Regions from separate parts of the Homo sapiens genome. Here region 1 is linked to region 2. The links are contacts of gene promoters, found by promoter capture Hi-C in human tissues and cell types (Jung and others, 2019). All regions are on one chromosome and are shown on one strand. The core of a region is centred on a gene start or on the middle of the fragment in contact, and the rest is flanking DNA. Distances in the headings are between cores, read along the strand shown. Region 1 overlaps CCDC15 (coiled-coil domain containing 15). Region 2 holds the start of HEPN1 (hepatocellular carcinoma, down-regulated 1).

Region 1 (4,215 bases), core at 16-2,515, 49 kb after region 2:
TCCCTTTGTGGGTAACCCGACCTTCTCTGGCTGACCTTAACATTTTTTCCTTCATTTCAACCTTGGTGAATCTGACAATTATGTGTTTTGGGGTTGCTCTTCTCGAGGAGTATCTTTGTGGTGTTTTCTGTATTTCCTGAATTTAAAGGTTGACCTGCCTTGCTAGGTTGGGGAAGTTCTCCTGGATAATATCTTGACGACTGTTTTCCAACTTGGTTCCATTCTCGCTGTCACTTTCAGGTACACCAATCAAACATAGATTTGGTCTTTTCACATAGTCCCATATTTCTTGGAGGCTTTGTTCATTTCTTTTTATTCTTTTTTCTCTAAACTTCTCACTTCATTTCATTAATTTGATCTTCAGTCACTGATACCCTTTCTTCCACTTGATCAAATTGGCTACTGAAGCTTGTGCATTCGTCACGTAGTTCTCGTGCATGGTTTTCAGCTCCATCAGGTCATTTAAGATCTTCTCTACACTGTTTATTCTAGTTAGCCATTCGTCTAATCTTTTTTCAAGGGTTTTAGCTTCCTTGCGATGGGTTCAAACATCCTCCTTTAGCTCGGAGAAGTTTGTCATTATTGACCTTCTGAAGCCTACTTCTGCCAACTAGTCAAAGTCATTCTCCATCCAGCTTTGTTCCGTTGCTGGCGAGGAGCTGTGATCCTTTGGAGGAGAAGAAGTGCTCTGGTTTTTAGAATTTTCAGCTTTTCTGCTCTGGTTTCTCCCCATCTTTGTGGTTTTATTTACCTTTGGTCTTTGATGATGGTGACCTACAGATGGAGTTTTGGTGTGGATGTCCTTTTTGTTGATGTTGATGCTATTCCTTTCTGTTTGTTAGTTTTCCTTCTAACAGTCAGGTCCCTCAGCTGCAGGTCTGTTGGAGTTTGCTGGAGGTCCACTCCAGATCCTGTTTGCCTGGGTATCACCAGTGGAGGCTGCAGAACAGCAAATATTGCAGAACAGCAAATATTGCTGCCTGATCCTTCCTCTGGAAGCTTCGTCTCAGAGGGCACCTGGCTGTGTGAGGTGTCAGTCGGTCCCTACTGGGAGGTGTCTCCCAGTTAGGCTACAGGAGGGTCAGGAACCCACTTGAGGAGGCAGTATGTCCGTTCTCAGAGCTCAAACTTCATGCTGGGAGAACCACTGCTCTCTTCAGAGCTGTCAGACAGGGACGTTTAAGTCTGCAGAAGTTTCTGCTGCCTTTTGTTCAGCTATGCCCTGACCCTGGAGGTGGAGTCTACAGAGGCAGACAGGCCTCGTTGAGCTGCAGTGGGCTCCACCCAGTTCGAGCTTCCTAGACACTTTGTTTACCTACTGAAGCCTCAGGAATGGCGGACGCCCCTCCTCCAGCCAGGCTGCTGCCTCGCAGTTTAATCTCGGACTGCTGCGCTAGCAGTGAGCAAGGCTCTGTGGGTGTGGGACCTGCCAAGCCAGGTGCGGGGTATAATCTCTTGGTGTGCCATTTGCTAAGACTGTTGGAAAAGCGCAGTATTAGGGCGGGAGTGTCCCGATTTTCCAGGTACCATCTGTCATGGCTTCCCTTGGCTAGGAAAGGGAAATCCCCCGACTGCTTGCACTTCCTGGGTGAGGCGATGCCCCACCCTGCTTCGGTTCACCCTCCGTAGGCTGCACCCACTGTCCAGCCAGTCCCAAGGAGATGACAGGTAGCTCAGTTGGAAATGCAGAAATCTACCTGTCTTCTGCGTCGATCACGCTGGGAGCTGCAGACCGGAGCTGTTCCTATTCAGCCATCTTGGAATGGACCCCCCAATTCTTTTTATATTATCTCCATATGTGGCCATCTAATTCCTGCCACAACACCTCCACTATTGGACAACTCATTACTTTTTCAGACTGATCATTTTATTTTTAGAAGACTTGAAATTATTGCAACTATTTTTTCAACATGTTGAGTCAAAAATCTTCCTCCCTATAACTTTTATCCATTGGTCTTAATTTTGCCCTCTCAGGTAATAAAAAATAAGATAGCATCTGAGAGCACTTCAAGTATTTGATTATAGTTATCATTTTTCTTTTTTGGGTTTCTATATTCCTAATGCCTTATTGATTTCTTCTGAATACTATTTTGTTTTTCAATATTCTTCTGAAATAGGACCTCAAAAACAACACAATACTGTATTTTAAATATGATTTGGCCACTAGTGCTCTTAATCCGCACCCCTTACCTCACCCTCTGCTTGATAATACTTGGTATTACCTACTTGTTCAAAGGTCAGTTAAGATTAGTTGCCTAAAGGTAGGAGCTAGAATTGTAGACTGGAAGAAATTTCAAGTGTCTTATAATATATAGAACCAGTATTTTGTTTTCATTAGGACTGATATTTATCTTTAGGGATTCAGTTTCTGTGATGTCCCTTGAAAGCGGCATTTTGGTGAGGAATTGAAGAACAACTGATCATTGTTTTAGTCTTACCATATAATAACTTTTTATTGATCTGTCCCTATTCAGTTTGCTACTGTTTTCTAGCATGGTTTATTCCAGCTTTTTGTTTCTCACTGAATCTTTTACTATCTTATTTCTATTTTTATTCTCTCTTTACAGTGCTAGTTTTCCAGCTTTTTAAAACCATGGAAATAATTACTTTTTGTAGTAAAGCTTTAAGTAATGTGAAATAGCCTGCTAAATTCTTGTAATCTACCATTGAAAAAACTAGTATTTCAGTCAGACACTTTTGCCTGCAAGAACTCAGGCTAACCCAAACAAGGGGAAAGTTTATTTGAAGAATACACATGGGTTAATAAGGGAAGAATCAGAATCTCACACAAATCCAAACTCCTTTGAGGAATGCAACTGGAGAGTTTTTCTGGATGTGAGTTTTTCTGGATGTGAGCTCCAGTGACCCCAAGAGCATGAGATATTTGATCTTCACACTAATATTTAATCAGTAGCTTGATTGATTCAGTTCTTCTCATAGGGTGACCAACCTTCCCTATTGGTCTAAGATCGAGGGGTTTCCAGGACATGGGACTTTTCAGTGCTAAAACTGAGACAGTTCTAGGTAAACTAGTATAGTTGGTCACCTTGTTTCTACATGTATGCTTCCCTCTTATTTTCTCATTTCTCTACCATTAACTGGTATTGTCATCTCCTCATCACAGCTTCATAACTTTGGTATACTTGAGGACCCGTTAGCCTCTTTTTTCCAGTTTAGGACCTTTTATGTTCAAGTCCTCTCTCTAACTTTTCTCTGGATATTTCCTAGTTTATTATCTGAGGTAAGGAATATTTATTGGCCCAGCTTGCCTTTTTGCATTAGGTCTACATTACTGGCCATCTTATAGATTGATAGCAATTGTGACAAAAGAAAGATAATGCAACTCGCTGCATTGCACTGGGATTCATGGGCTATAAAAAGTGGCTCATGTGAGTTCAACTTTTAATGTATGGTATTTTCTGGCCACTGAAAAGTCTAACACATTTAAAAATCAGTATGATATCATTTGCAAATAAACTACATTATACTTGAATAGAATTCAACTTTGATTAGATTTTTATGGCCTTAACAATACACTTTACATTGGTATTAGTCCTCCATGATAATAAAGTAGGTAAAATTCTATAAATATTAGATCTCATCTATACTCTTTTCCCATGACCTACATAGTATTACTAATTGTTTTGTTTATACAGTTACATGTAAATTCTATCTTATTCTTGATTGGCTAAAAAATTACACAAACAAGTTAAAAAGAACTGAAGAAAATATGAACAGTGTCCTAGTTAGATATCTATATTTCTCAAATTTTATCCTTCATATTTGCTTGATGCTTTAAATTTTACTATCTAATCATAGTTTGCTTTAGATTTTAAGATTTAAATCTCAAAATTTATATATTACAATTTTCGTTTTGTTACAAAGAAGTGCTTTTGCTAATTGTTAAAGTTATGTTTCTGTGTGCAAAATAGACATTTTTTTTGGTGTGCAGAAGACATTGCATCAAGGCCTATTTTTATTTGACATATTACTACACAACCCTTGCTCCAGTCAGCTAAGGCTAGGGAGGAAGTTGCCTAAGGCCGCCCCTTTAATAGGGCTTGTAGGCCTGGCAGTATTCCTTAGAAGGCACTGTGATTGGTTGTCTGGTATACCTGGGATATAGTCTCTAGGGGTCAGTGCAAGCAAAGTTTTGTTGGCAATGGTTTGTTAGTTAGGAAAACTAACAAACAGAAAGGAATAGCATCGACATCA
Region 2 (4,585 bases), core at 2,009-4,508:
CTTTTCTTTCTCCAAAACAAGCAGTCTCTCTCTCCTCTCCTCTCCTCTCCTCTCCTCTTCTCTCTCCCTTTCTCTCTCTCTCTCCTTCTCTCTCTGTTTGTGCTGAGCTGCCTGGAGCTGGAAGAAGGGTGACACAAGTATCCCTGTGGCCACCATCACTGAGACTGTGCTGCGTCAGACCTGAAGCCAGCACAGCACCAGGTGTCACCAAAGGCCTGTGGTAACCACTGTCTGGCTACCAGCTATGTTCGCTCAAGGCCCTAAGGCTCTAGAGTCAGCAGGTGGCAATGCCAGCCAGGCTTGTATCCATTACTTCAGGGTGCCAAGTTTCCACCAGTCCTGGGCAGGTCCAGAGATGTCACCTGGGAGCCAGGGCCTGGGGTAAGAAACTTTAGGAATCTACCTGGTGCTCTATTTTACTCCAGCTGAGCTGGCACCCAAGCCCAAGGCAATGTCTTTCCCACTCTTCCCTCTCCTTTCCTCAAGCAGAGGTGTCTCTTCCCTTGGTCACCACTGCCCCAGGCCCATGGTCAATACTGCCTGGCTACTGCTGATGTTCATTCATGGATCAAGGGCTCTTGAGTCAGCTTATGAATGCTGCTAAGCATAGGACTCTCCTTTCTAGGCAGTGGGCTCCACTATGGCCACTAGGGCAGGTCCAGAAATGCCATACAAGAGCTAAACCCTGGAATTGGGGACCCCAAGAGCCCACTTGGTTCTCTACCGCACTGAGGCCACACCGGTACCTAAGCTGCAAGACAAAGTCCCCTTTATCCTTCCTTCAACTTTTCTCAAGCAGAAGGAGCCCCTTCCCATAGCCACCACAGCTGGAAAGGTGCTTGGTGACATCTGAAGCCAACATGTCTCTTAGTCTCACCCAAGGCCAATGGCAAGTACTGCTTGGGTTCTATTGCAAATTATTGAGGGCCCTTGGGCTCTAGAGAGAGCAGGTGATGAATGCTGCCAGGACTGGGTCATTCCCTTCAAACCAATGGGTTCCCTTCTGGCCCAGGGTGTCTAGAAATGTTGTCTGGGAGCTAGGGCCTGAAATGGGGGACTCAGGACTCTGTCTTATGCCCTATCCTACTGTGGCTGAGCTTGTCTTATGCCCTGTCCTACTGTGGCTGAGCTGATATCCAAGTTGCAATACACAGTCCTGTTTACTCTTCCTGCTCCTCTCCTCCAACCACAGAAAGGAGTCTTTTTCAAAGCTGCAAGCTGTGATGCCTGGTGTTGGCAGAGGGATGATGCAAGCACTCCCTTGGCTGCACCAGCTGGTGTCTCACTAGATCATATGCTCAAGTCCACTGGCTTCAAGCCCAGCACAGCATCAGGAATCCCCCCTAGAATTGCAGTCCTTGTGTCCTAGACAGACTTTTAAAAGTTTATTTAGGACCCCAGAGCACTTTAACCCATGGTCGTGAGTCTTTTTGGAATTCAGGTTCCAACCACTGGGATGTGTAATTCCTCTCTGGCGAGGGCTGGTCTAAATGCTCCTTCTGTGGGTGCTGGCTGAGTTCTGCCTGGTGTTGTTTCTCCCTGTGACAGGGCAGCACTGCGTTCCAATGCAAAGCCCCACAATGACTGCACTCTCCCTCCCGCAAGTGCAGAGATTCTCTCTCTGTTCCATGCGGCAGCTGCCGGGTGATGAGGGAGGGGTGGTGTCAGCAATTCAAGACTGTCTTTCTTACCTTCTTCAGTGCCTCTTTCAGTGATATGAAGTTAAAACCAGGTATTGTGATCACTCATTGGATGTTTGGTTGTTATGAGGGTGCTTTTTTTGTGTGGACAGTTGTTCAATCTGGTGTTTTTGCAGGAAGACAATCAGTGAAGGCTTCTATTCAGCCATCTTGCTTCACCTCCCTTGGTAATCTCATATTTAATGAGTGCTAAGTACTTTGAGCTCACTGTGCTTTTAAATTTTGTTTTACTTCTGACTGCTTAAAAATTTCCCCCATCTCTGGCAGGGAAGTGGCTCATGCCTGTAATCCCAGCACTTTGGGAGGCCAAGGTGGGCGGATCATGAGGTCAGGAGTTTGAGATCAGCCTGGCCAACATAGTGAAACCCTGTCTCTACCAAAAATACAAAAATTAGCTGGACATGGTGGCACGTGCTTGTAGTCCCAGCTACTCGGGAGGCTGAGGCAGGAGAATCACTTGAACCCAGGAGGCAGAGGTTGTAGTGAGCCTAGACTGCGCCATTGCACTCCAGCCTGGGTGACAAGAATGAGACTCTGTCTGAAAAAAAAAAAAAAATTCCCCCATCTCTTGAAGCCAGCAATGCAAAACAAATATCATTTAAGCAAGACCTAGTTGTTTTGAAACAGGAAGACCTCTCAAACATCTAGTCTCAAGTATTTAGCAGAGAAGTTCCACATATCACTTTTTACCTGTTGCAATCTGGCTTTAACCCCTACTACATGTCTGAAACTACTTATGCCAAGTCACTCAATGTTTTCATTGTTGCCAAATTTAACATGCACTTTTAACTTCATTTCATATGTGAGCCCCCTGCCCTTGTAGTCCCGAATGCTCCCTTTTTCTTGAAACTCTCTTGTTCTTTTGATTGTGTGATATAGTTATCTCCTATATATTCTCCTATCTTGCTGGCTGTGCCTTTTAAGCCTTCTTGGTGAAGTCCTTTTAAATTTTCTACACATACTGATGCCTCAGAAATCTATCTGCAGCTTTCTTCACCTTCTACTTTGTATACTTTCCTGAAATAATTTCATCAACTGCTAGGCTCAGTACCCTGAATTCCCCCCCATCGTGTCTTGCACTTCCAAGCTTTTATACATGCTTCTCCCTCTGCTTGGAGTGTGTCCTCTCATACTTTTAAAAACCAGATTAACTAACAAGTCTTTCTAAGAAAGACTCAACTCAGGTCTGTTCTCCTCCAAGATGCCTTTGCTGACATCTAATCTACATGCTCCCAGAGCACCTTGTATCTACTTCTGCCATTGCATTTTACACACTATATTGTAATCTGTTTACTGATCTGTCTTCCTGACATAGTTATGCTGTATCAGCAGTGTCTAGCACAGGGCCTAGTCCATGGTAGGTAAACAAATGTTTGTCGAATAAATAAAAGAACACCTGAATAAGTAAATGAATGAACGGGTAAGTGATTTTGGAACGGACAATTTGGGGTTTGGAAAGAGGGTAAAGGAGGTGAAAGGAGAAGAAGAGAAATGACTGGTATATTTAAGCAGCTTGTTTTGTTACCCTTGTTTATGTGGAATAAAGTTGTCATTTCATTTCATCAAAAGTTTATTGAGCATCCAGTATGTGCTAGGCACTCTGCTGGATGCTAGTAATACAAAGATGAAGATGAAAACAACACAAAAACAAACCCCACTTCCTTACTTACCCCTCCCCACCCCCAATTTAAGGCAGATTTGGCTTAAGCCTGGCAAGCTGGCCCCTCAGGGATTCAGCACCAGGGTATGGCATGTTCTCATCTCACCCTAACCTTCACCTGTGCATCTCAAGGCTGACCAGCAGGTACTCCTTATCCAAGTCCTGCTGCCTCTTCCACCTTCTTGAGAAACTTTTCCCCTACATGCATTATCTCATTATGGATGAGGCACCTGGGAAGTTTAGGGGAGCTGCGAAGGCACACCTGCTCAAATGAGCCTGGGGAAGTGCCGAGGGACAGGGAGCTGAGACAGGCATGCTGTGGGGTTCAGGGCAGAGGGGGCAAACTAGAAATGTCAGTGCCTTTGGGGCTGAGACAAAACTTGACCTGGTGTGGAGGTGATGGGTAACTGGGGCCTTGGAATTGCTCCATGGGTTGATGGCGAATCAGAGCTGGAGTTTAGGAGACTAGGGATGCAAGGACCCTTGGAGGCATTAAGGAGGAGGGAATGGAATACACAGAGGGCCTCCTTCTCTTTCAGCTTTTTAATTGCCCTCTCTCCTCACACAGTAGATTACTGCCACTCCTATGAACTGTTCAATAGGCGGTGGCATGGGCATGTCCTGGCTACACAGCGGCCCAGCCTCTTTATTTTGATGTTAGTGTGATTAGGGAGTCTGCCCTTTTTCTGTGCCCTGGGACCTGAGCATGTGGGAGCAGGGCAGATGGGTGGCAGGAGGCCAGGGGTTGGATCATGTTCCCCCCAAATGCTGGGAAGCAATAAGCCTCCTCCTCCCCCCACCATTTCTCTGGAGATTAGGACTTATTCTCACAGCTGGAGGAAGCTCAACAACTTTCCTGAGGACAATGATTGTTTGAAAGGCTTGTTTTGTAAGGAAGCCAGGAGGAATATATGAGTTTGATGAGCTAAAACAGTTCCTCATTTGGTCTAGTTTTCGGGCCAGGGGAGTAAGTGAAATTCACTTCTCTATAAGAATAAGCCCATCCATCTCTTTTATTCATGAACAGAGACAGAAAGAGTGCTTGGCATGGCATGCCTCCGAGGGAGGCTGTGGGAGGAGGCCAAGCTGGCAGGCTCGGGTTCTTTGCCCTTGCTAGCGCCCAGGTCAGAGGGAAAAGGAATGTACTCGTACCCTTCCCTCACCACCTTGTAGGTCCCCAGGTACCAGGTGCCCAGGGAAGAAGGCCTTCACAATGATCCCCCCA

The links. The method cuts DNA at HindIII sites, captures the fragments that hold promoters and counts their contacts. A contact is called where the count stands out against the background at its distance.
Region 1: a contact is called between a fragment that was not itself captured here and the fragment with the promoter of HEPN1 in region 2, in 2 of the 25 tissues and cell types used here (H1 embryonic stem cells and adrenal gland).

What each region holds. Positions count from the first base shown.
Region 1 is chr11:124,967,027-124,971,241 of GRCh38, forward strand. All of the region lies in intron 4 of CCDC15 (coiled-coil domain containing 15), which reads left to right. Among named protein-coding and RNA genes, the nearest start is that of CCDC15, 15 kb to the left of the region's middle. The HindIII fragment of the contact is 4,673 bases long and covers 1-3,602 here.
Region 2 is chr11:124,915,992-124,920,576 of GRCh38, forward strand. HEPN1 (hepatocellular carcinoma, down-regulated 1) reads left to right here and starts at 3,259. Exons shown (of 1, transcript NM_001037558.4): 1 at 3,259-4,585. The coding sequence starts at 3,760. The coding sequence ends at 4,026. It overlaps HEPACAM (hepatic and glial cell adhesion molecule), which reads right to left. Exons shown (of 7, transcript NM_152722.5): 7 at 3,214-4,585. All of the region lies in intron 1 of LOC107984406 (a long non-coding RNA gene), which reads left to right. The HindIII fragment of the contact is 7,901 bases long and covers 1-4,585 here.